Linked DNA regions of Homo sapiens: all the other regions are linked to region 1. Evidence: promoter capture Hi-C in 16 types of primary human blood cells and fetal thymus (Javierre and others, 2016). All regions are on one chromosome and are shown on one strand. The core of a region is centred on a gene start or on the middle of the fragment in contact, and the rest is flanking DNA. Distances in the headings are between cores, read along the strand shown.

Region 1 (4,171 bases), core at 1,299-3,798:
GGGCTATTTATATTTCATACACTATGAGACACTATACCAAGCATAAGTACTTTATATTTTGATTGGATTTCAAAGACAAAAATATAATTTTTATTTTCTGTCGTATAATAGAAAGAGATCTTACAATATAAAGTATAAATATACCTTATAAATATAAATATAAGGTACCCATCTATTAATTACAAATTTCTACTAAATACGTTCACAGACCTGTTTCCTAATACATTAAAATACATACATCTGGTCTATTTTATGTGAAATATTTAACTACGGTAACACCATTTAATTGTTCTAGAATTTTCCTTCTAGCCTATGTCTGCAGGCTGTATGTAGACAGCCTGTTGTTTTGATAAGAAAAAGTATGGCTTACGTGTTTTTACCCCGTGGTTCTTAATTTTCTATTAGGACACAGGTCCATTTTGGATATTTGACTATGTACTATCTCCCTTAAAATGCAGCCACTCTAATGTTTAAATACAATTTTAGGGACTTCACGGCCCCTTGAAGAAGATCACGGACCCAGTTGTTTAATGGCTGAACAAAGCACAGAATGCATAGACAACTTCCACTGAAGCAATAATAAAGCTTATATGTATAACTTTCAGACCAATTAAGTGTTGCTTATTTTGGTTACATCGTCGTTGCTATCATAACGAGTTTACTTTTTACCACTGTACATAATAGGGTACCTGAAATGATCACTCTTAAAGAAAAAATATGTATAGCAATTTTAGGAAAAGCAACAGACCACTTCTACACTCTGAACCAAGATAAAAAAAAATTATATCAAGTGCTTCTATGCTTACCCATATGTAACAGGAAAGTTTGACGTTTGTACAAAGACAGTTCTAGTAAGTGGTAGAGATGTATGAAATCAAATCAATTCATTAAATAGGCATTTAGTGAAATTACCATAGGAGAACTGATCCTAAAACATCACTATTGATATGTTATAAATGAAGTTCAAATGAAAGAAAAAAAAATCTGTCCTATTTAAAACTCAGCACTGTTTCCATAGGTTCCAAATCAAGATGCCTTCAACCAGTCATCGTTAAGTGAGCCATACAATCTTCTGGCTTACTTCAGAAGATGTAAACTGTTTATCGAGTGCAAAATGAAAGAATAACCATGTGAAAATCAGTGAGCAGAGAAAGACGCACGAAATCCATAGCCTGAAATCACATGACCACATTGCAACGCAGCCCCTCACACCATTGTCACTGTCAGGCAGCTCAGGCGACAGGGTGCAGACAGGCGCGGAGACCGCGGTGGCCCCCTGCTCACGCTTTCTCCAAGAGCCGCAGTCCTAACGAAAACAGAAATGGGACTGCTAAGCAGTAAATCATTTGTCTCTCTCGCACACACGCGCACACCTCGTGGAGCCGCTGGGCAGTTAGCCGGCTGCCTTCTCTGGGCAGCCCAGCGATCGCAGCTTTTGCTGTGGAGGAGGACGCGCCTCTTACCCACGCCGCAGCCGGCCGGGTGAAGTTGCCCTGAAGCCCGCCACCGCCTCCAGCCCTGCTGCCTCCGGGGTCCAGGCATCCCCCAGCTGCGCCCGCTCGCTTGCCTGCCGGCGCGCCGGAGGCCGCAGCGCTGCACGCGGCTGATGGGCTCTGGGGCCCAGGCGCCCTGGCCGTGGGAGACCAGCGGCCCCGGCGCGCCCCGCGCGTTCTCACGGCCCGGCCCCGCGAGCTCAGCAGCCGGCGCGGCGCTGCTCGGCGCCCACCCCCGTCTGTGCTCCTCCCTCGGGCGCCGCGGGTCCCCCGGGCCCTGGGCCGGCCCCTCGGGCGTCCTCTCCTTTCCTCTCGCTCCTCCCCAGCGTGGGAACCCGATGCTGGCTTCCCAGGGCTGGGCAACTGGGAGCGTACCGAAGGTTTCTCAGGAGAGGAAGGAGACCCAGCCCAAGCGGGGGTCCCGGAAGAGGGACCGCCTGTCTGAAGAACCCCGACCCGCGTGGGGATGCAGCGACCACTTACTTGGTGGCTTCGCACACCTCGGGGCTGTGCTTCCGGATCTCTAGCAGCTCCAGGGCGCGCCTCGCAAATCCGCACTGCGAATGGAGAAAGAGAGCAGGCGTCAGGGGTGGCAGGCAGTGAGCGGGAGAGGGGACCCTGCAGTGGCACCTGTCGGTCCCCGCGCGAGTGCACCCTGGGCACTCGCGGCAGCGGCACTTACGCTTGGGTCGCTCATGTCTACCTGTTCAACAGGCTAGGCGGGACGCGGCGTGCCTCGGAAACTGTATCGCCCGCGTGGCTCCCAGACAGTCCTCCTTGCCTTTGTCTCTCTGTGTCTGTGTCTCCCTCTTTGATCACCCCAAAGGAACCCTTGCAGTTCCTTTCCATAAGGCATTCGATTTTTTCAGACCTCTGCCCGCCTCCTCCCCTTCTCCGCACCGAAAGACTGAAAAAGAAAGTAGCAGCCAAAACGCACCATGGTGAGATCACGCCCGGCTGGGGTCTCTAAGCTCCTCCAGGCGCTCCCTCCCCCACAGGTGTCCTCCGCCTGGGTCTGTTCCAGGCTGCTCGCTGCTCTAGCGCAGGAAAAGTGTAGGAAAACTCTGCACTGAAACCTGCTTCTGGAAAACTGACTCTGAGCTGAGTCCCACCCACTAGGCTCAGACTAGGGCAGGGGAACTGAGTCCTGGTCTCTGCAGCCGCCCAATCGCCATAACAGAAATCACTGTGTGGAGACAGAGACCTAGGGGCAGGGGACAAAAAAAAAAAAAGAGAGAGAGAGAGAGAAAGAAAAAAATTGGAGGGGACTCCAGGAAAATTTGGCACACTTAAAAAGAAAAACAAAAACATGTCTTCTCCACTATGCACTGGTGTGGAAAAACTGTAGTTTTCCACAGTTAAAAACTCCAACATTTCTGCTGGGGAAGTTGACATCTGCGCTGATGACTCTCTTGTCCTGGTTTTCAGATTTGAAGCCAATCTACTCATTTGCAGATGCAGTTTTATGGTTACAGAGATTTTACATCTTTTCAGTAAGGTCTGGCTTCTGCCTGGTTCAGTGCATTTAGTTATATTTGTTACCGTTGTGTGTGTTGTGATATTATGCTTTTAGTCACCTTTCTGACTTAAAAAAATCCCATCATGCTGTTCCATTGTGAATTAACAATTAATCATGATCTTTATGTGATCCATTTTCAATTCAGTTCAATTCATGGTTATCTTCCTCTTTTATATCTCCCCCAAGTACACCATCTAATCTGGTCCCATTTGTAAGCTCATCACATTTGCAAACTTTCTCCCAGTCTTGCCTACTGTGCTTGCCTCATAGTGAACATTAATCAGAATCAGGAAAAAAATACATTTAAATAAGTCAGGAACAGTTAAGAAAGTCAGCAATATAAGCACAGGTAGTCACAGAAACTTTTGCCTTCCTGCCATCTCAGAAACTTCTCTTCCTCTACATTTAACCCATGATACTCTCTTAGATCAGTAGGACATTTGTACTAAGAATATTTAGAACTTCAGATGTAGAAGGAAACTTAAAAAATACACAGTAATTCATTAGTAAAAAGAAGAGGGAAGTCATACTATTTTTAAGTAAATGCTATGAACATTCAGAAGAAAATGAGATATTGTCTGACAGGGTTCATAAAGGAACAGTACTAGAGATAGGACTTGAAGGATTGGTTATGTTTGGAAAAAGATAAAATAGAGGACTTTTTTGTTGTTTTTGCTTTTCTCTGACAGAGGGAAACTTGTGAGCAAACATACAGAGGTTGGAAAGGCATGACACTGTTATTCAAGAAACAAGGAGTAATACCATCTGGTAGAAATAAAAAGTACATAAAGAAAAGTGTAGGAAGATACGGTGGAAAGATAGGCCGGGTTCAGATGCCTGATCCGCAGTTGTCACGTGTTGCAGGCTTGTATAAAGACTTTGTTGTTGCTGTTGTCCTCGTCTGTTGATACCATTACCAATATTCCTTTCATTCTGGAAAATGACTTGTTTAACCCATTAATTTCTACTTTTACCATTCTCAAGTTTTATGGCACACCAAACTCCTTGATTAGTATTGCATTTGACCCCAGTACATTCTGCCAGGAGCTACCGAGTTTTACTAAGAGTAGACTCTCAACTGGATAGTGTCTTGTCTTCTTCCTCCTCTATCCTTTCTGACTGTCAGACAATGGGTAAGAAGAGGAAGCAACCAATCTAA
Region 2 (3,726 bases), core at 1,016-3,515, 140 kb after region 1:
TTTTTCTTTTAGTATTTTTCTAAATGCTTTTTTCCTCTAATATTTTATGTAATCCAATAGTAAAAAATAAAATACACAACTTCAGAGAAAAGTCAATGCTGCCTTTGGAGAAATCAGTTTGGCAGCTTTATTGTCTCTCTAAATTCTTGATGATAAAATAAAATTACAAATGTGATAATAATAGTACATACCTGTTCAAGTTCCAAGATCATTGAAACGTGAATGGCAAGATAATAAAAGAAATTTGGAAATATTTTGAATATTTCTCCCTAGGAAATTGATTTTTAGACCAGTTAACCTCTGGGGATATGGTTTCCTTACCTATAAAACTAAGTGATTGAGTTTAATGTCATTATAACTTATTCATCAATAAAATAAGCAGAAATAAATTCAAATATACTTGAAAGACAACAAAACATAGTCAATTATGGTAAGAAAAGAATTGTTCTGTTAATAGGTAATATAACTTGTAGGCTTAAATTAGGATCTTAAGTTAATCAGTTGGCTTCTATGAGATTCCGTTTGTTATCAAAATGAAAGAGTTGGACTAAATCAAGTGTTCCTTACCTGGGTTATGGTTTTTGGCCCAGAGGAACAAAAGAACCCTGATATATTATGAACATTTTGAGTGCATGTATACTTTCCCAGAGGAGGGTTTATAGCTTCCTTTTCAAATTCTCAAAGAGGTCCAAAGCTGGGAACACACTAGATGATCTCCAATGTCTCAGTTGCTCTGACTTCCTAAGGTTAGTATGACTTGCAACTCCACTTGGCTTCCGATTAAGGAAGAGACTGCCTTTTTCGCTGAATTTACAGTCCAAGTGATTATTTTAAAATTGAAATTATCTGTTGTCTATAAAAAATATTTCACTATACATAAGACAAATATCCTGGCTAACCAGGACATTCTATAAATCAATTGTCATGAAGTTCCTGAAATATTTTTGTTGTCTAAAAAGAAGACCCAACTTGATTACAAATTTAATTTACATGGAGACATAATGTCCATAAAAAGGAAAAAAGTTGTTTTCATATGTAATAGGGTTTGTCTTGATGAACAGATGGAAAGTAACCCAGAAGCAGGTGGGTTGTGTACACATTTGTTATGTAAGAAGAGGCAAAAGCTTTGACTTAGTAAGAAAGTCATCTTCAGTGAAGAGCGTGGGAGAACTTTTTCCATTGAAACAAAGGCATTATGATGAAATGCTAAAGCTGTCAAAATAAAAATTGCTTTAGCGACAATGTTAAGTTTTTGTCCTGGTGTCTGAAGAAGGGAAGAGTACAGAGATGGAGCAGATACAAAGCTTTCCTCATTCCCAGCAGATGGGAAACGTGTTGACACCTGGTGGAAAATGCTTCTGGCTTAGTCAGATTTATTCTTTCAAATTTCTATTCTCCTTGTGAATTGTCTCAAGTGACAAGATGCAGACCTTTGATATATAATAAACTCAACCACTGATTTTTAGTTCCTGTAATATAAAGATTTTTGTTCAGATATCCTGGGGCTAATCTGCTGTGGGTTACCTAGAAACTGTTCTAGTTCTTTAGACTCTTGAAGGGAAACATTACTTTACTTTTTTTTTCCTAGTTTGTTTTAATGTTTTTGACTTTGGAATTGTATGCATGTTAAAATATATAGCTGATATAGGAGAAAGAGAAGGAAGGGGAGGACATTCCGTTAGGCTGGATCCAAATGATCTGCATCATAATTGAGATAGAGATGTCTTGGTGTAAGTGGACCACATAAAACCAGACAAAACAACAGTCAATTGACTATCGATATGCATGCATATAGCCAGGCATGGTGGCTCACACCTGTAATCCCAGTCCTTTGGGAGGCCGAGGCAGGCAGATCACCTGAGGTCAGGAGTTTGAGACCAGACTGGTCAACATGGTGAAACCCTGCCTCTACTGAAAATACAAAAATTAGCTGAGCACAGTGGTGCAAGCCTGTAATCCCAGCTACTTGGGAGGCTGAGGCAGGAGAATCGCTTGAACCTGGGAGGCAAAGGTTGCAGTGAGCTGAGATCATGCCACTGCACTCCAGCCTGGGCGACAGATCGAGACTCAGTCTCAAAATAATAATAATAATAATAATAATAATAATAAAGATATGCATGCTATGAATGCAAATGGTTTCCTCAGAGATGAGGCTTAAAGGATTCCTAAGGTAATTTTGGAAGAAGATGCTAATGCTAGAAGGTACAGATGCAGAACAAGCAGGGCATTCATTCACTTTCTCTCTGTTCTATGCACAGGAATTCAAAAATACCAAGGCAAAATTACTGTCCCAAGAAATTAACTGTTTCATAGTTAAGAAAGGCAAAAAGAAGAATGGATATAAGATAGGAGATGGAGGATTTTCAGAATATGATGACTGAATCTAGATGTAGGTGGTAAAGAATGATAATCAGATTGTTATTTCTTAAACAAAGGGAAAACTAGTAGTAAAATTGTAAGTGGAAAGATCACAGGACTCTATCCTTGCCAACTGTTTAGATGACTATGGAAAGCAGTTTCCCTCTGAAATCTGGATTTCAAGCCCCCTGAGAGAACTTTGTTCCAGGACTTAAAGGGTACTAAAAGAAAAATTGAGTCTTGTCCTACCAGGTGAAATGTCCCAGTGAACTAGCAAGAAAATGAAATCGAGGAATCAGTGATTGGAGTTAGAGGGAAAACAAGCCTAGAAGATACTCTTTAACATATGTAAACCTGCTTAAGCTAAGTGAGTAACCAGACACTGTGTGTCTATAATTTATCTCTTGTATATAAATTGTATCCCACAATCCCTCCCTCTGAGATAAAAATAGTCATGCACACAAACTGACAAGACCTGTTCTGTATTTCAGTGAGCCCTGTGAAGGAGGGACACCTTCAAAGAAGAAAAAGTATAATGACTACCAGCGTATGGGCCCTAACAACACAGAGACAAATATAATCTTGTACATTTTAGCACTCAATAAATGTCATGGTAATGGAATAGGGAGGAGAGCTACAGATGTTCAATTTTTCCAAAGCAGAGATATTCAAGAGCTATACTGTGAGAACTCAGCCAGAATAAAAAGTAATTGTTTGGGAACTTGTTGGGGAACATTAATCAGAGACAACTGAGGCACAAGTCTGTAAAGCTCCCTAGAAAACACAGAAATTGAACTGGGATTTGTTTGCACAAGAGAGCAGGTTTTGAGGATATCACAAATTATCTTTAGAAAGACTTAAAGCTTTATGTTTCCCCTTTACCCTTCAACAATTCTTGGAAAACTGTCTCCTTTCAGAGGTAGAGGTGTTATTTATTCCTGGATTCTCAGTGGAAAATAAATGGTATTAGTAGGCATGGTGAAGAAAGAAGCATATGGCTTCAAGATTACTTGATTGCCACACTGTGATGTCAGTGATCTTGCCATAGTTTTTTGGTTTTGATAGCTAGGTTTATCCCATAGCTCCTCAAATCCATGCCTAGATTGTGACCATTCTTAACCAGGTCATGTAGCTAGCACATGGTAAAGAATTATTTTGTGTCATCTAGAATGTAAAATTTGAACTATTCTGTAGAGGTTTCCAGGAAACGTTTTAAGATAAATTTAAGAAAGAAGTCTCTAAGGAGTCTTAGAGTTTTATGTAGTTGACATGACCTGTCTAGTGAAATAGTGGACTCCATGTTATCAGAGTTATTCATGAAGAAGCCGGAATATCTACTTACCAGGAAGTGACAGAAATTTCTTGCAT
Region 3 (3,719 bases), core at 1,011-3,510, 160 kb after region 1:
ACTGAACATTAATGAAACAACCAGTTAATACATCCTTCCATCATTCTTACCACATATTCTTAAATAGTTTTAAATCTCTCCCTTCTTTCTTGGCTATCTTCCCTTTCTCTCCTTCTCATTCTACCTGTCCTTCCTTCATGCACCATTTCTCTCAGAGGTAATCAAGGACAATTTTCCTGACTTCTGTTTAAGCAGTCTGTGTAGAAAACTAAGGGAATTAGACCCACTTATCTCTAGAAAACCGGTTACATTCAGAGGTCCTGATGAAGATTCTAGATAGATGATAGATAGATAGATGATGTTGATAGATAGATAGATAGATAGATAGATAGATAGATAGATAGAATTCTTTGTATGATTCAATGTAACCATATTTTAAAATAGCAAACTAATCATTCCAATAATTTTCACACTCATTTTATAACTAAAACTGGAATGAAAAGTACTCAAGGCATACTATTTCTGCAAAGCAGTCTCTATCTTCACCAGCCTAGAATGCATCGTCATTGTCTTCATCAGCATGTAGAGAAGCTGATGGTTGTGTTTCCAGCTCTCAGCATCGTTTGGCTGCAGAGATCGGCTGCCCTGCTCATCACAAGGCCAGCTAGAAACATTCAATTACCAGCTGTGGGAGCACAGCTGAGACTGTTATCCTTCGCCCTGTCAGTTTGAGTATTGAAAACAACTGCTGAAGTCCATGATAAAGGAACAAAACTACTTTCAGAAAAGTTGACATCTGAAATACCAAATTCTCCTGGCAACAAGTTAGAGAAAACTTTCATTAATTAAAAAAAAAAGTAGGAACTGACAAATTAGTTTTTCAAGGAAACCAACATTTATATATACTTATAGATTACACAAATACTAGGCTGAGAATAAAAGCTTATACTTTTAGTACCAGCTCTCCACAGGAGAGCCTAAATACAGACAATTATAAAATATTTTTAAAAATACACAGAATCCATTCCTCTGTTTGAAGATATGCATATTTGAAGCAATAGGAAAGCTTGCAAGAAACAGTCTGTACAAAAAGACTTCCAGAAGCAGTACAAAAGAGGACTACTCAGAAATCACATTTCAGACTTGAAAGTAGCTTAAAACTATTTAGTTCAGTCTTCTGTTTTTTCAGCTATGGAACCTGTGAACGGGAAATAAATCTCGGGACCCCCAAATCTCTAAGCCAAAAGGAAAAGTCAAGCTGGAACTGCGTCAGGAAAACCTGCCTCCTATTTTATTCCTAAAAAAGATAGCTAAGAAAGCTACATGCCTGCCTGACAATTCGCCCACAAGGAATTTGCACACAAGGAATAGGGTAAAGACCTTGAGGAAATTTCAGGGTGAAATTCCAGTTCTGTTGAATTTCACCCTGGCAATGTAAACTGATAGCTCATCTTCACAGGTGCAGGGCAGAAAGTCATCCCTCCGCTCACCTGAGACAAATACATATCTGATTGCTTCCTCTACCTTATTGTTTACTTAAAAATGCAGATTCACTAAGCCAGACTAAGGCATAAATGACTATTCCTCTACCCTCCTCTCATATGTAAATTGTGTATTCAGTGAAAAGCTAATCAGAGACTCAAGAGAACGCAAAAGACTTGTCAAAAAGAATTGCCTTTTATCTTCCTATGACGGAACCAATGTACATCTTACATATATTGATTGATGTCTCATGTCTCTCTAAAATGTACAAAAGCAAGCTGAACCCAACCACCTTGGGTACATGTCATCAGGACCTCCTGAGGCTGTGTCACCGGCACATCCTTAACCTTGGCAAAATAAGCTTTCCAAACTGATTGAGACCTGTCTCAGATTTTTTGGGTTACAAACTAAAGAGATACTGTGAACAAAACAAGGACAGGAAATTCACGGGGGGAGAAACAGACTGAAAACTCTGATCTCTTAAGAATTTGTTCACAGTTCTTTCCATCTGAGAAACGTTCTATTCTATGAGTACTTCCTGAGGGCCTAACATATGGATGGCTGTGTGCTGAGTTTGATGGAGCATGCAAAGATGAATCTTCATGCAAACTGCTCACATCATGGGAGGAGCAATACCATATGAAGAGATTTGCTAACACCCAATATAAAGTAGTGTGTGCAACATAATTTCAACATAAGTTCTACTACATTCTTTGAGAACTGGCAAAGTTTAAAACGTGGCCAGCAAGTTTAAAAACATGACCTATGACCTGATAATGCTGCTGCTGTTATTGGTGCAGTTAAAACATAAAAAGTCAGTATTCTATGCTTTTATAAAGGCCATTTTTGACTATAGATTATTGAGCCTTTTTTATGTTCTAAAAATGGTTCCTGTTTTACTTTATGTATTGACCTTAAAATACACGAAAGGTCTAATTATGAGTCAATCCATAGAATAATTTTTATATTCCTCTGATATATTTCCATTGAAAAATTATTCTAGCAAAGCAATTATAAAAAAACTCTTAAAATGAGGTACTACTGCTTAAATTCAAGCACAGTGCAGTATAGTGTTTCTAACTAACAGTTAAATCAGTAATATGATATACTCTAAAGTCTTTAGGCTACAAAATATTAAATTAAAACAATATTTCATAATTAAATGAGAATCAATAAGAGAAAATATTTAACTACACATTTGCGTTTGAAATGAATCAATTCAGGTTGCATTTTGCATATTAGTTCTACTATAATTTGGTTTTCACATTGTTCATGAAAAGTCTCTTCTGGAAAATAAACTAGGGAAGAAAGCTTAAAAATTAACTTTATTAGTGAAAGTGAAGAAAATTAAATGTATGCCAAGAAGTTTAGAAATTATTTGGAGATGTCATTTGTGTTATTGTTCTCCTTTGCTATCTTAAAGAGATATCGATGGGGACAGGAAAGCTCTCTTTTTTTTTTTTTTTTTCCCACAATGTCAGTTCTTACCACAATAAAGCTCAGATTTGATTTTATGGAAATGTCAAAAAAAAAAAGGAAAATCATTTCTTCAATTATTTATCTTCTTATTATGAACATGTTCCTCTCTCTGTGTCTGCCAAGTCATCACAAATTATCACCATCAGTGTTCATGAAAGCTCAGGTCCTAGAAAATTCTCAGAGTTGTTTATTATAAAGCATTTGCCTAAAACATATCCTTTTCGCATGTGAGCCTTATAGATAAAAATGATCCTGAGTGGGCCGGGCACGGTGGCTCACGCCTGTAATCCCAGCACTTTGGGAGGCCGAGGCGGGCGGATCACGAGATCAGGAGATTGAGACCATCCTGGCTAACACGGTGAAACCCCGTCTCCACAAAAATACAGAAAATTAGCCGGGCATGGTGGTGTGCGCCTGTAGTCCCAGCTAATCAGGAGGCTGAGGCAGGAGAATGGCGTGAACCCGGGAGACGGAGCTTGCAGTGAGCCGAGATCGAGCTACTGCACTCCAGCCTGGGCAACAGAGCGAGACTCCAACTCAAAAAAACAAAACAAAACAAAACAAAAAAAGATCCTGAATTAAATAGACGGAGGACAACCTGTTTTGTGCCCCATTATATACTAAAATGCTACAAGCCATTCCAAAACCTTTACAGTATGCTACTAAAATCTAAAAACAATACAAGCAACAACAACAAAAAGAGTAAATGTTCTGAAGGAAAGAAAAAATAATACTAAAGGCAACTTAAAAAATAATACCTATAAAAAACCATTTTTATAAATCGTGTTACCTCATTTCCCTTCCACAATTATAACAGC

What was found. The method cuts DNA at HindIII sites, captures the fragments that hold promoters and counts their contacts. A CHiCAGO score of 5 or more calls a contact.
Region 2: a fragment that was not itself captured here is called in contact with the fragment with the promoter of GUCY1A1 in region 1 in 2 of 17 cell types (megakaryocytes and fetal thymus); the score reaches 6.2 in megakaryocytes.
Region 3: a fragment that was not itself captured here is called in contact with the fragment with the promoter of GUCY1A1 in region 1 in 1 of 17 cell types (fetal thymus); the score reaches 6.0 in fetal thymus.

Annotation. Positions count from the first base shown.
Region 1 is chr4:155,665,225-155,669,395 of GRCh38, reverse strand. GUCY1A1 (guanylate cyclase 1 soluble subunit alpha 1) reads right to left here and starts at 2,548. Exons shown (of 10, transcript NM_001130682.3): 1 at 2,431-2,548; 2 at 1,977-2,050. The HindIII fragment of the contact is 4,774 bases long and covers 588-4,171 here.
Region 2 is chr4:155,522,612-155,526,337 of GRCh38, reverse strand. No RefSeq gene overlaps it. Among named protein-coding and RNA genes, the nearest start is that of GUCY1A1, 140 kb to the left of the region's middle. The HindIII fragment of the contact is 1,917 bases long and covers 1,307-3,223 here.
Region 3 is chr4:155,503,843-155,507,561 of GRCh38, reverse strand. The region is part of intron 1 of LOC105377505 (a long non-coding RNA gene); the gene reads right to left. Among named protein-coding and RNA genes, the nearest start is that of MAP9, 130 kb to the right of the region's middle. The HindIII fragment of the contact is 950 bases long and covers 1,786-2,735 here.